4 separate regions of the Homo sapiens genome follow, and all the other regions are linked to region 1. Evidence: promoter capture Hi-C in human tissues and cell types (Jung and others, 2019). All regions are on one chromosome and are shown on one strand. Each heading gives the region's core, a stretch centred on a gene start or on the middle of the fragment in contact. The rest is flanking DNA. Distances are from core to core; before and after follow the strand shown.

What was found. The method cuts DNA at HindIII sites, captures the fragments that hold promoters and counts their contacts. A contact is called where the count stands out against the background at its distance.
Region 2: a fragment that was not itself captured here is called in contact with the fragment with the promoter of HMOX1 in region 1 in 1 of the 25 tissues and cell types used here (dorsolateral prefrontal cortex).
Region 3: a contact is called between a fragment that was not itself captured here and the fragment with the promoter of HMOX1 in region 1, in 2 of the 25 tissues and cell types used here (bladder and heart left ventricle).
Region 4: a fragment that was not itself captured here is called in contact with the fragment with the promoter of HMOX1 in region 1 in 2 of the 25 tissues and cell types used here (aorta and lymphoblastoid cells).

The regions. Positions count from the first base shown.
Region 1 is chr22:35,379,682-35,382,502 of GRCh38, reverse strand. HMOX1 (heme oxygenase 1) reads right to left here and starts at 1,407. Exons shown (of 5, transcript NM_002133.3): 1 at 1,307-1,407. The coding sequence starts at 1,329. RefSeq lists silencers at 1,137-1,306, 1,607-1,686. The HindIII fragment of the contact is 25,740 bases long and covers 1-2,821 here.
Region 2 is chr22:35,931,468-35,934,173 of GRCh38, reverse strand. All of the region lies in intron 2 of RBFOX2 (RNA binding fox-1 homolog 2), which reads left to right. Among named protein-coding and RNA genes, the nearest start is that of RBFOX2, 96 kb to the left of the region's middle. The HindIII fragment of the contact is 3,064 bases long and covers 1-2,706 here.
Region 3 is chr22:35,956,480-35,959,179 of GRCh38, reverse strand. The region is part of intron 1 of RBFOX2 (RNA binding fox-1 homolog 2); the gene reads left to right. Among named protein-coding and RNA genes, the nearest start is that of RBFOX2, 71 kb to the left of the region's middle. The HindIII fragment of the contact is 3,101 bases long and covers 1-2,700 here.
Region 4 is chr22:35,899,930-35,902,629 of GRCh38, reverse strand. All of the region lies in intron 2 of RBFOX2 (RNA binding fox-1 homolog 2), which reads left to right. Among named protein-coding and RNA genes, the nearest start is that of RBFOX2, 130 kb to the left of the region's middle. The HindIII fragment of the contact is 4,689 bases long and covers 1-2,700 here.

The DNA of each region.
Region 1 (2,821 bases), core at 158-2,657:
GTGGGCGCCTGTAATCCCAACTACTTGGGAGGCTGAGGCAGGAGAATCGCTTGAACCCAGGAGGCAGAGGTTGCAGTGAGCCGAGATCGCGCCACTGCACTCCAGCCTGGGCAACAGAGCAACACTCCATCTCAAAAAAAGAAAAGCAAAAAAGCAAAAAAACAAAAAAACAAAAAACAAAAAACAAATTCAGGCTGGGCATGGTGGCTCTCGCAGCTTTGTAAACACTCTTCAGTCATTAAAACACTAAATAATACAGTCCCCCAAACCAAGGGGGAAATCCTGGTACAGGTAGTTCGCAGTGGAGAGGAGGAGGAGGTACAGCATAACCCAGGAAGAAGCAGCAGCCCCATGAACCGGCATCTCCAAGTTTGTAATTGCTTTGATTGGCTTTTAGACCCAATATTTAATTCAGTTATTTTGTTAAAGTTCCAGATGCAAATCTCATGACCCCCTATCATGTTATGCTCATCATGAAGGCGTCAGGGTTAAAAAGCCTGAGAAAGTCTGCTTTAGTCAAAGAAAAAGTCTTTCTGGGAGTATTTCTGTCATGGGTCCGTATCCCTGCCTCCCCACAGAATTGTCATTTTTCCCTTTTCTCCTGCCCTGCTTCCCTGTTCTACAACACAGCTGGTCAAAGTCTCAGGAGAAATGGCACATGTCTGTAAGTCCCAGCTACTCTGGAGGCTGAGGTGGGAGGATGCTTAAGCCCAGGAGTTAAAAAAAAAAATACTAACAAATTATTGAAAGAAGGGAATGAGTGAGACCTGGAGGTGGGCAGACCAAGGTTCAAGGCCCAGTTCTGACACCAGCTAACTGAGCACTCTTGGGCATGTCGCCTCCCTGAACTGGGCTATCTGTGAGACATGGAACACCGCAGCCAGGGTGATGTCTGGCTCAGGTCCTCCGTAGCTAGTGAGGGACAGATGCCACCAAGAGAACCAAGCATGCTCCCCCAGGCTGGCAGAGCCCCAGAGATCTAGATTCAGCAGAGAGCAACTCCAAACACACCTCGAAAGTAGGATTAAAAAAAAAATTGGCTACCTCAAAGACTGGATACTCTAGGGACACTCCCATCTTGGTCACCAACCGCATACCAGGGTGCCAGGCATGTAAATTACCGTTCCTCCCTCCAACTACCCTACGGGCACAGGCAGGATCAGAACCCCGCACCTCCTGACTCCAGAGCCCAAGTTTCTGGCTCCTGGGCTCTGTCGCTGTGTGGCAGTGTCCCGGGGTGGGGCTAGGACGCAAGCAGGGTTGGGAGAGAAAGGCGCCCGTCCCGCGTCCCGCGCCCCGCGCTTGCCTGTCGGGTTGCGGACGCTCCATCCGGCCGGTGCTGGGCTCGTTCGTGCTGGCTCCGCGGGCGGCGGCTGCGCTGAGGACGCTCGAGAGGAGGCAGGCGTTGACTGCCGGAGCCGCGGCCGGTCACATTTATGCTCGGCGGGTCACGTGGGCCAGGCGGAACAGCTGATGCCCACTTTCTGGCCGGGCGTTGCAACACCCGCAGGGGCCCGCGCCCAGCCCGCCCCGGGCCAGTGTGGGGTGGAGAGGAGCAGTCATATGACCCTTGGGAAACAAAGTCTGGCCATAGGACTTTTAGAGAAAACACACACACACACACACACACACACACATACACACACACACACACACACACACACACACAAAACCTTTAAGGAAATCTGAGAAGCTGCAGGCTCTGGGTGTGATTTTGCTCCTTCCAGAGCCCCCCCTTCTGCTCCCTGTCCCCTTGGGACTTGATGCACCCCAGGCGTCCCAGAAGGTTCCAGAAAGCTGGGAGGCAGCGCTGCTCAGAGCAATAGCCTGGTGGGCAACATCAGGAACTTAGCAACCCCAGGCTCTGCTGTCTCCAGCTCCCTAAAATGTCACCTGCTGGAATCCTCTGCTGACTGCTTGCCTCCTCACACCCTCTTTAAATGTACATTTAGGATCTGTTTTTTGAGTTCCTGTCAAAAAACAGAGACTCTAGTATTTTCATGGTTCATCCCTACAACTGACCTGTGAGGGTAGATCGCTTCTATTTTACAGATGGGGAAACCGAGGCTCAGAGGGGTGCAGTGGTGTCACACATAAAGCAGGATGCCAGTGTCCAAACCCAGGGAGGAGACTAAGTCCCCGCCTGCCTCCTCCACACTCTGGCAGCACCTGGTATCCGCCTGGACTGGGACACCTGTCATACAAACTGCTTCCCTGCTGGAATGCGTGGGACACTCTTCCAGGCACATTCAGGTCTGACTTATACTCAGTGCCTGCTCAGGGCCCAGAGCAGAGCTGGCCCTTGCTGATCGCCTATTGAATCAATTCTGCATGAGGTGGACTCCTTAGAACTCGGGGGAAATAGGGTCACTGGGTGAACCCAGAGGACAAAACGAATGGACCAGATGATTCATACAGTCCTTTCCCAATACTGTGATTCTCATTCTAAGATTTTTTTTTTAAGATGGCTTTCAGGCCTGGCATGGTAGCTCACACCTGTAGTCCCAGTACTTTGGGAGGTTGAGGTGGGAAGAGCGCTTTGAGCCCAGTCGAGGTGGGAAGATTGCTTTGAGTTCGAGACTGGCCTGGGCAACATAGGGAGACCCTGTCTCTACAAAATATAAAATAAATTAGCTGGGCATGGTGGCACATGCCTGTGGTCCCAGCTACTTGGGAGGCTGAGGCTGGAGGTTCACTTGAGCCTGGGATGTAGAGGCTGGAGTGAGCTGTGACCACGCTACTGTATTCTAACCTGGGCAACAGAACAAGACGCTGTCCCTCAAAAAAAAAAAAAAACAAAAAAAAAAAAAAAAAACTTCCT
Region 2 (2,706 bases), core at 34-2,533, 550 kb before region 1:
TTTTTTTAAAGAGGAACACGGTCTTGATGACATTCAGAGCAATTTGGGTGAAACTGTCTATCTAGATTTGTATGGTTTTCCCTTCTTGCCCGGTCTTTTACAGTTATCCTGCCCACATCTAATTTGAGCCTAAGTTTTCAGTGTCTTGACTTATTTTTCACAAAGCATTCACATTAGTTATTTTCAAGGAAATTTTCTAATTTATTTCATTGATGTGTGTATATATATATATATATATATATATATAACATTTAATTATATAATTATAAGAACTTACGACTTCTATAAACTGGCAGGTGAATAAACACAAGTGATTTTTGGTAAGCATACAACTCAGCTACTGGGAGAAGAAAGGGCTTGGGGGCAAATAGGAGAGAGTTGTTTACTAGTTTTAGGTGGTTTAAGACTGTTAAAAGCGTCCCTTTATTAGACTTGGGAACTGGAGAACATTAGTTAATTTAACAAGTTAATTGATTAAAAGAGGCTTATACTTTAATCAACCACAGGGAAGACTTACTTTTGTTTCATCAATTTTGTATCTCCTTAGTGGTTACTTGACTAAATTTTGTTCTATTGTTTTAGAGTCAACTCGGTTTGGGGGATGGGTAGGGAAGAGGATTAGAACAGATACACACAAACTAGAGATAATTTGTTTTGCTTCATTGGGGTGGCCTAACCAAGTAAGGGATGTTCAGCAGTGGGATACTTGCAAAACTAAGTGTTGAAAGCTTTCATTATTTCATCATTAAAAATTATTTAAGCTGTAGTGTACTATTTTGTTTATTAATTGATGAATACAAATGTATATATTTGTGGTACACAAAAAACCCAACTAATATCTGCTAACTGCTTTACAGTTTACAAAACCCTCCTGTGTATATCCACTTTTGATCTTCACAATAGTTCAGCTAGGTGGCTTGGGCTTTATTATCCCAATTTTATAGATAAAAGAATACCAAAGCACAGAGACTGTCAAATGAATCTCCCAGTCTTAGTTATATAGGTAGTAAGTAAAGAATTGGACTTGAACCCCGATTTTCAGCCTCCATGTCTTGTATTTCCCTTTTGTATTTGTCTGTCAGTGTCTCTCTGAATATAAGTGTTCTTTTGCTGGTGTGACAAGATAAGATATTCTGGAATCTTTGGAGAATGTGGGAGCATGAAGTCTTCATATGACTTGAAAGTTCTTGAGTAACTTATTTCTGTCAAGTTTTCTATCTTGTTTGTTAAAATAACTTATGATCTAAATTTTATCTTTTCATATTTTAAATACAAAGAAAAATGTCATGTTGTCAATTTTTTTGAGACTCTGTTGCCCAGGCTGGAATGAAGTGGCGCAATCTTGGCTCACTGCAACATTTGCCTCCCGGGTTCAAGTGATTCTTCTGCCTCAGCCTCCTGAGTAGCTGGGATTACAGACATGCGACACTAAGCCTGGCTAATTTTTGTATTTTTAGTAGAGACAGTGTTTTGCCATGTTGGCCAGGCTGATCTCAAACTTCTGACCTCAGGTGATCTGCTCACCTCAGCCTCCCAAAGTGCTGGAATTACAGATGTGAACCACCACGCGGGGCCCATTCTTTGATGTTTAAAATGCTTGTCAATGACTTCTCAAAACTATATTTTTTTCTTCAATTTTCTAAAATTCTGTTGAAAGACACAATGTCCCATTGATTAGCAGAAACAAGTGGGAACATCAAAGGAGATGCTTAAGTTGACAAATATAACATAGACAATTATAGATTTAAATTCAGAGTGGCAGCCTTACTTTTAATAAGAGGGTAAATTTAAAATGACCTAAGGGTTTCTTTTCTTAACAAGTATTTTCTTTCCTCAAGATTTTTTTTTTCTTTTTTCTAACCAGTTTTTTCATGGGTAGAAAATGAACTTTATTTTAGTCAAATTTTTGCAATGAACTTTCAAGGCTTTTTTTTTATTGGGAGCTGTGGACAACAGCAAATATATCTTCTGTAGTGCTCATTTGGCTTGATTGAAGAAATGATGACTACTTTTCTTCCCTCGGGGATAGTTGGTGGAATGGAGGACATGGTAAGTGTGTTCAGGTTCTAGCTTAGTGCTTTTGAGCTTAAAAAAAGACTGACCCCAAGGAGGCAGTTGCTTTTATGTCATGACCCAGTATACACACATACATATATGTTGACTATAACTTAGAATTAGTCTTACCAAATGCTGCCTATCTTAACCATGTTCTAAGTACTGTGATATTTTCTGTCCCCTTCAAAAAATTGTCGATTGTGACTAACGATTGACCAAAATTGATTTCTGCTGGATTTTTCCTGGACCCACTAATGGATTGCAACCTGTTTGAAAAACATTGTTCTAATACTTACATTCCTTAAAAATGCAACCTTAAAGAAACCTCATGCCTTTATTTTTTTGAGATGGAGTCTCACTTTGTCACCTAGGCTGGAGTGCAGTGGCATGATCTCTGCTCATTGCAACCTCCACCTCCCAGGCTCAAGTGGTCCTCCTACCTCAGCCTCCTGAGTAGCTGGGACCGCAGGTGTGCACCTCCATGCCCAGCTAGTTTTTGTATTTTTGGTAGAGATGGGGTTTCACCATGTTGCCCAGGTTGGTCTTGAACTCCTGAGTTCATGCGTTCCACCCGCCTCAACCTCCCAAAGTGCTGGGATTACAGCCGTAAGCTTCCATGCCGGGACACAAGAAACCCCATACCTTTTAGCA
Region 3 (2,700 bases), core at 171-2,670, 580 kb before region 1:
ATTGCAGTGCCTGCATATGTCACTGGCTTTTCCTTTTCCCTTGCCTTCAACCTTTCATTGATAAATCTGTAGTGTAGTTCTAGTCCCTTAGAAAGGGCCACCAGTGGAGTCTCAGTACCATCTCATCTCTGTGGGCTCTTCTTGCCCTTCTCCCAGCTATCTTGAGTATTTAATTGTACTTGCAGAAAACTAAGCTTTACACAATATATATATATATATAGTTTTCTCTATCTGTTTCTGCAAAATGCCTTTTACTTAATGGAGACTATTATCTAAGAGGGCTAGAAGATGAAGAACTAAAGGATTTGAGTAATTGAGTTGATACAGGAATCAAAGTATAACGAGATATGACAGGCAGCTCTTTTATGAATTCTTAATAGTTGACCATTTGTTTAAAAAAATGTAATTCCTGGTTTTTAAAACTTGGCATCAAGAAAAAAAATCCTCGGTAGGTTTGAAGTTGTTTGAAGTCTTTTAGATTGGTTCCAAGCAAGAATTAACGTGGTAATTATCAGAAGATCACTGAATTGGTAAGTAATGAGCATTATCTTCTTTCTGACCAGGGAATTAATACAATAAAAGGAAGTTCAGGGACTTGCTCTGAGGACACTAGTAGTAGGTGGCAGAGAGTCTAGGTCAGAGAGTTGGCAGTTGTAGCCAGTAGGGCATTGGAAGCAACAGCAGCAGGAGGAAATAGAAAAGTCCAGTTTTACCCAGATCTTAATGGACTTAGGGATAGGCAGGATTGTGAACTCAAAGCATATAATAAAAATTGTTACAATAATAGTTTTTCTCTATGGGGTAGGTATACTTTCAGGTGCTTTGTATACCTTGTGCCTAAACTTAACATCCTTGCAAGGTGTAGACATGATCACATATATTTTATAGACCAGAAAATAAAATTGAGGCCCAGAAAGGTGAGTAACTTGTCCTAAGTTGTTCCTCTAATAAACACCAGAGCTGGTTTAACATCATGTTCAATAGCAATGTGAGTGAAGAGACTGTTATAAAACTCAATTGAAATAATGTCTATCAATTAAAATAAAATTTATTATTTTGTCTATAATGACTTTTTTTGGGGTAGAATTGTTAATTTAAATTTAGACTGTGATAGTCAACTCAGCCTGTCTTAAAGGGACTTTTTTGAATGTTGCAGAATGATCCTTTGAAATGTATTTCTTTTATACTCTGAGGCTAATTAAGAGGTATCTTTTGTTTTTTTAAATGCCAAAGCTTGTGAAGTCTTCAGTTTAGTGAAACACCAGTTTAAATTGAAATATCACAACACAAACTGATTTGTTGGTGGTTATCAATTGGCATATTTAGTCATAATGAGTATTCACATAATTGTGTCTGTTAGTCTGTTATTCCATTCAGATCCAGATGTAGATAATTATCAATGATTGCACAGAGTGAATCATGTATTTAGACAGATTTCTAAGTTACGGTTGGAAGAACTACAAATGAGAGGACTTGGGTTCCAGGCCTGTTTTTGTGACCTTGGACATGTCACTTGAAACTCAAGGGAATGAACCTGAGTTTCCATTATCAATCAAAAGAGAATAATGTTATCTATCTAACAGAATTGTTATGAGTAGGAGGATGTGCTTGACACCAATTTCTGCTTCTTAGACTAGCTCTGTAACCTTGAGAAAGACATTTAAAACCTTGTGGTACATTGGTTTTCTTATCTGTAAGGTCAGTCTGTGCTATGTGAATATGGTTGCAAGGTAAGGAGGGTGCAAGTAAAGTAGCTGAATTAGAATTAGATGATCCCTATGGGTCCCCTCATAATCTGTGGTCCTGTACTAGTCAGAACTGCCTGTGTGTTGGTATGTGGTGAAGTGTTACATACAACTAAGATACTGTTTCTTCTTATTATTATTGTTAACAGGGCCACCCCATTAAGGAACAGGCACTGTGTAAGATATTGCATGTATTACCTCAATCCTTGTAACAATCCTATGAGGTAGGTAGTATTCTCATTTAAAGATGGAAGAATTTGAGGCTGAGAGATGAATTAGCTTTCCACAGCCATAGAGCTAGTTGGTTACCAGAGACGTAGATCAGTGTGATTCTAATAACTGTACTTTCCCCCATACCTCACTACACATGCTACTGTGACAGGCCAAAACTAGGACATGGGCTTATTATGCCACAAACTGCCTGTACCAAAGAATGTAATGACGACTGAGTAGTTATGTTCTTCACCACCAAACACTTAACAGTTAAAGAAGGGGAGAAAGACAGTTTCACTTCAGTGTTCCTGCTGAAGTAGTAAAAATTATTACTATTACTAATTCTCCATCCTCGGTTATGAATCTTTTAAATAATCTCTTTGGCAAAATGGGTAATACAAATAAAGCACTTCTGCTGCATACTAAGTATGACAGTTATCTAAAGGAAAACTGCTTCTGTGATTGAGTTGCCAGCTGAACTTTTTTCATGGGATGCCATTTTTATTTGAAAGAACAACTGATAGACTATGGTATTCGGACGTTTTATTAAAAATGAATGAGGTGGCCAGGCGCAGTGGCTCACACCTGTAATCCCAGCACTTTGGGAGGCTGAGGCGGGGGATCATGAGGTCAGGAGATCGAGACCATCCTGGCCAACATGGTGAAACCCCGTCTCTACTAAAAATACAAAAATTAGCCGGGTGTGCTGGCATGTGCCTGTAGTCCCAGCTACCTGGGAGGC
Region 4 (2,700 bases), core at 72-2,571, 520 kb before region 1:
TAGCTGAGAGTAGGTAGTGAAGAGTGAATGAGGGAGGTTTGAGGAGAAGCAAGAAATAGTCATTTTGGGGAGTAGGAAAGCTTTCAAGGGCAGCTTTGGTGGATTGCTTGGCATCGTTGAGTGTCCATTTGAGGTTTGTGATCATGAATATATAGTGAAGTCAGTCAGCTTGGTTATGTGATTTTTCTTCAGCAACATTCAGCTGATTGGGCATAGGCACTAGAAAAGGCAGACAATTGGATTTAACCAGGATTGGAGTTGTGTCAGGTGGCAGTGATGGAGAGGACAAATGATTGAGGGTATTTGCAAGGGAGAGATTGTAATTATGGAACACGGCATCAAAATTGGACAAAGAGGGTGCAGAACCGGAGTGGGTAGATAATGGAAAAGTGGTTGGGATGGGAGGACTTCATGACGTCAAAAATTGTAGGGAGGGGATACCAGAGAAAGCTAGTTAGAAGTAAGGGAAGTTCTTTGAGAGTATAATTGAAACGTAATAAGGAAAGATGGGTCTTTTAAGATGATGCAGCTTTTCTTCTCTTTTTTTTTTGAGACAGAGTCTCACTCTGTCGCCCAGGCTGGAGTGCAGTGGTGCATTCTCAGCTGACTGCAACCTCTGCCTCTAGGGTTCAAGCGATTCTCCTGCCTCAGCCTCCTGAGTAGCTGAGACTACAGATGCACCACCACACCTGGCTAATTTTTGTATTTTCAGCAGAGATGGGGTTTCACCATGTTGGCCAGGCTGGTCTTGAACTCCTGAACTCAAGTGATCCGCCTGCCTCAGCCTCCCAAATTGCTGGGATTATAGGTGTGAGTCACCGCGCCCAGCCAAGATAATGCAGTCTTCTGTTTTAGGGGTGGTAGCTCTGGGTTTCCTAATAACTGGGAGTAAGAGCTCTAACAAATCACTTAATTGCCTTTCCCAAGAGGCTAGCTTTGAGATGGACCGCTTTCTCCATGTATATATACATCTAGAGCTTAGTTTAGACATCATAGAAGGTAACCACCATTCACAGAAGTTTCTGGGTCTATTCTCTGAATGACATCAGTAGTAGCAGTGTTTTGGCCAGTGCACAAGTACAGTATGTGTACACCAACTCCCAAACCCTATCTCTGTCGTTTGTTGTTGTTTTTTACTTTTTTCTTGAGATGAGAGTTTTACTATGTTGCCCAGGCTGGTCTCAAACTCCTGAGCTCAAGCAAACCCTCCTGCCTCAGCCTCCTGAGAAGCTAGGATTACAGGCTCACATCACCACACCTGGCTTCATTTGTTATTTAAAGTCTTGGTAATGGGCAGAGGTAGAGTGCAGGGTTATTTATATCCAGGGTAAGTTTTTCAGTGATTTTTTTTCCAGTCTTGATTCAGTTTTGTCAGTGAATAGGTATGATTTAGTGGAAATGATCTTGGAGTCTTAAAAACGAACGTTGAACTTTTGGCTCTTTATTCACTAGCTGTGAGACCATGAGTATATTATGTAACCACTTTGGGCCTCAATTTCCTTTGATCTGTGAAAAAGATAACAGGGCCTGTCTTACAGAGATATTGTGAAGATGCAATGAGATAATGCATGCAAAGTTGTGGCACATAATATGCTCTGAGTAAATAGTAGCGGTTGGTGGTGTTACATTGAAACCAGCAAGTGGGAGAGGAATGTTCACTGTTTTGTCTTCCAGGGTGGTTTACATCCCCTAACTGGAAAGTGGCAGCCATATCTACGCCTTCTCCCATGAGTCGCTACTGCTGCATGTGGCCAGTGCCTCTGTCTAGACCAGCTTCTCAGATTTCGGTGTGCCTGAGAGTTACCTGGGGCTTTTGTTATCATATGATTTTGATTTTGTAAGTCTAGGGTGGGGCCTGAGATTCTTCAAATCTAAGGAGTTTCCAGTTGATGCTCATTCTGCTGTTGCTGGTCCATGTGTCACATTTGAGTAGCAGAATTCTGTTAGAGATTGCCCTGTGGGAATCCCTGCTATTTTAAGCTGAGAGGAAGTGAGGGAAAAAGAGCCTCATTCTTTCGACTTTTTTTTTTTTTTTTAAGTCAGCTTCATAGACAATACTCATACATCTCATTTCTCTACCTCAGTGTTGTTTTGGTGAGTCTGTATTGTCTCTACCAGTCCAGGAAGTGATAGGAATATAAACTATGTATAGAGGGTTGCCTCAGATTTCTTCTGAAGAATTTTTAGTGCCTGATTTCTCAGGTACATTTTTGAGAAATTGTGCTGGCTCCCCCGGTATACCTACTTCCCCCCGCTATCCTCTTACAACCACAGAGAAACTCGTATAAAACAAGTAGCCTGCCAGCCTGGCCAACATGGTGAAACCTTGTCTCTACTAAAAATACAAAAATAGCTGGGTGTGGTGGCAGGCGCCTGTAATCCCAGCCACTTGGGAGGTTGAGACAGGAGAATCACTTGAACCCGGGAGGCGGAGGTTGCAGTGAGCCGAGATCATGCCACTGCACTCCAACCTGGGCCACAGAGTGAGACTCCATCTCAAAAACAAACAAAACAAGTAGCCTCTTGAATTATTGGAGTCAGAGGCAGAGCATCTAAAATGTGGCTCCAGACCCTTTCTGCCCACCAGACTCACATTGCAAAATCCAGCATTTTTGAGATGTAGGAATTCAGGAAGCAAGGTTAGAATTATTGGCAATACCCATATTGCTGTCCCAGATTATCTGATTTTTCTTTCTCAGA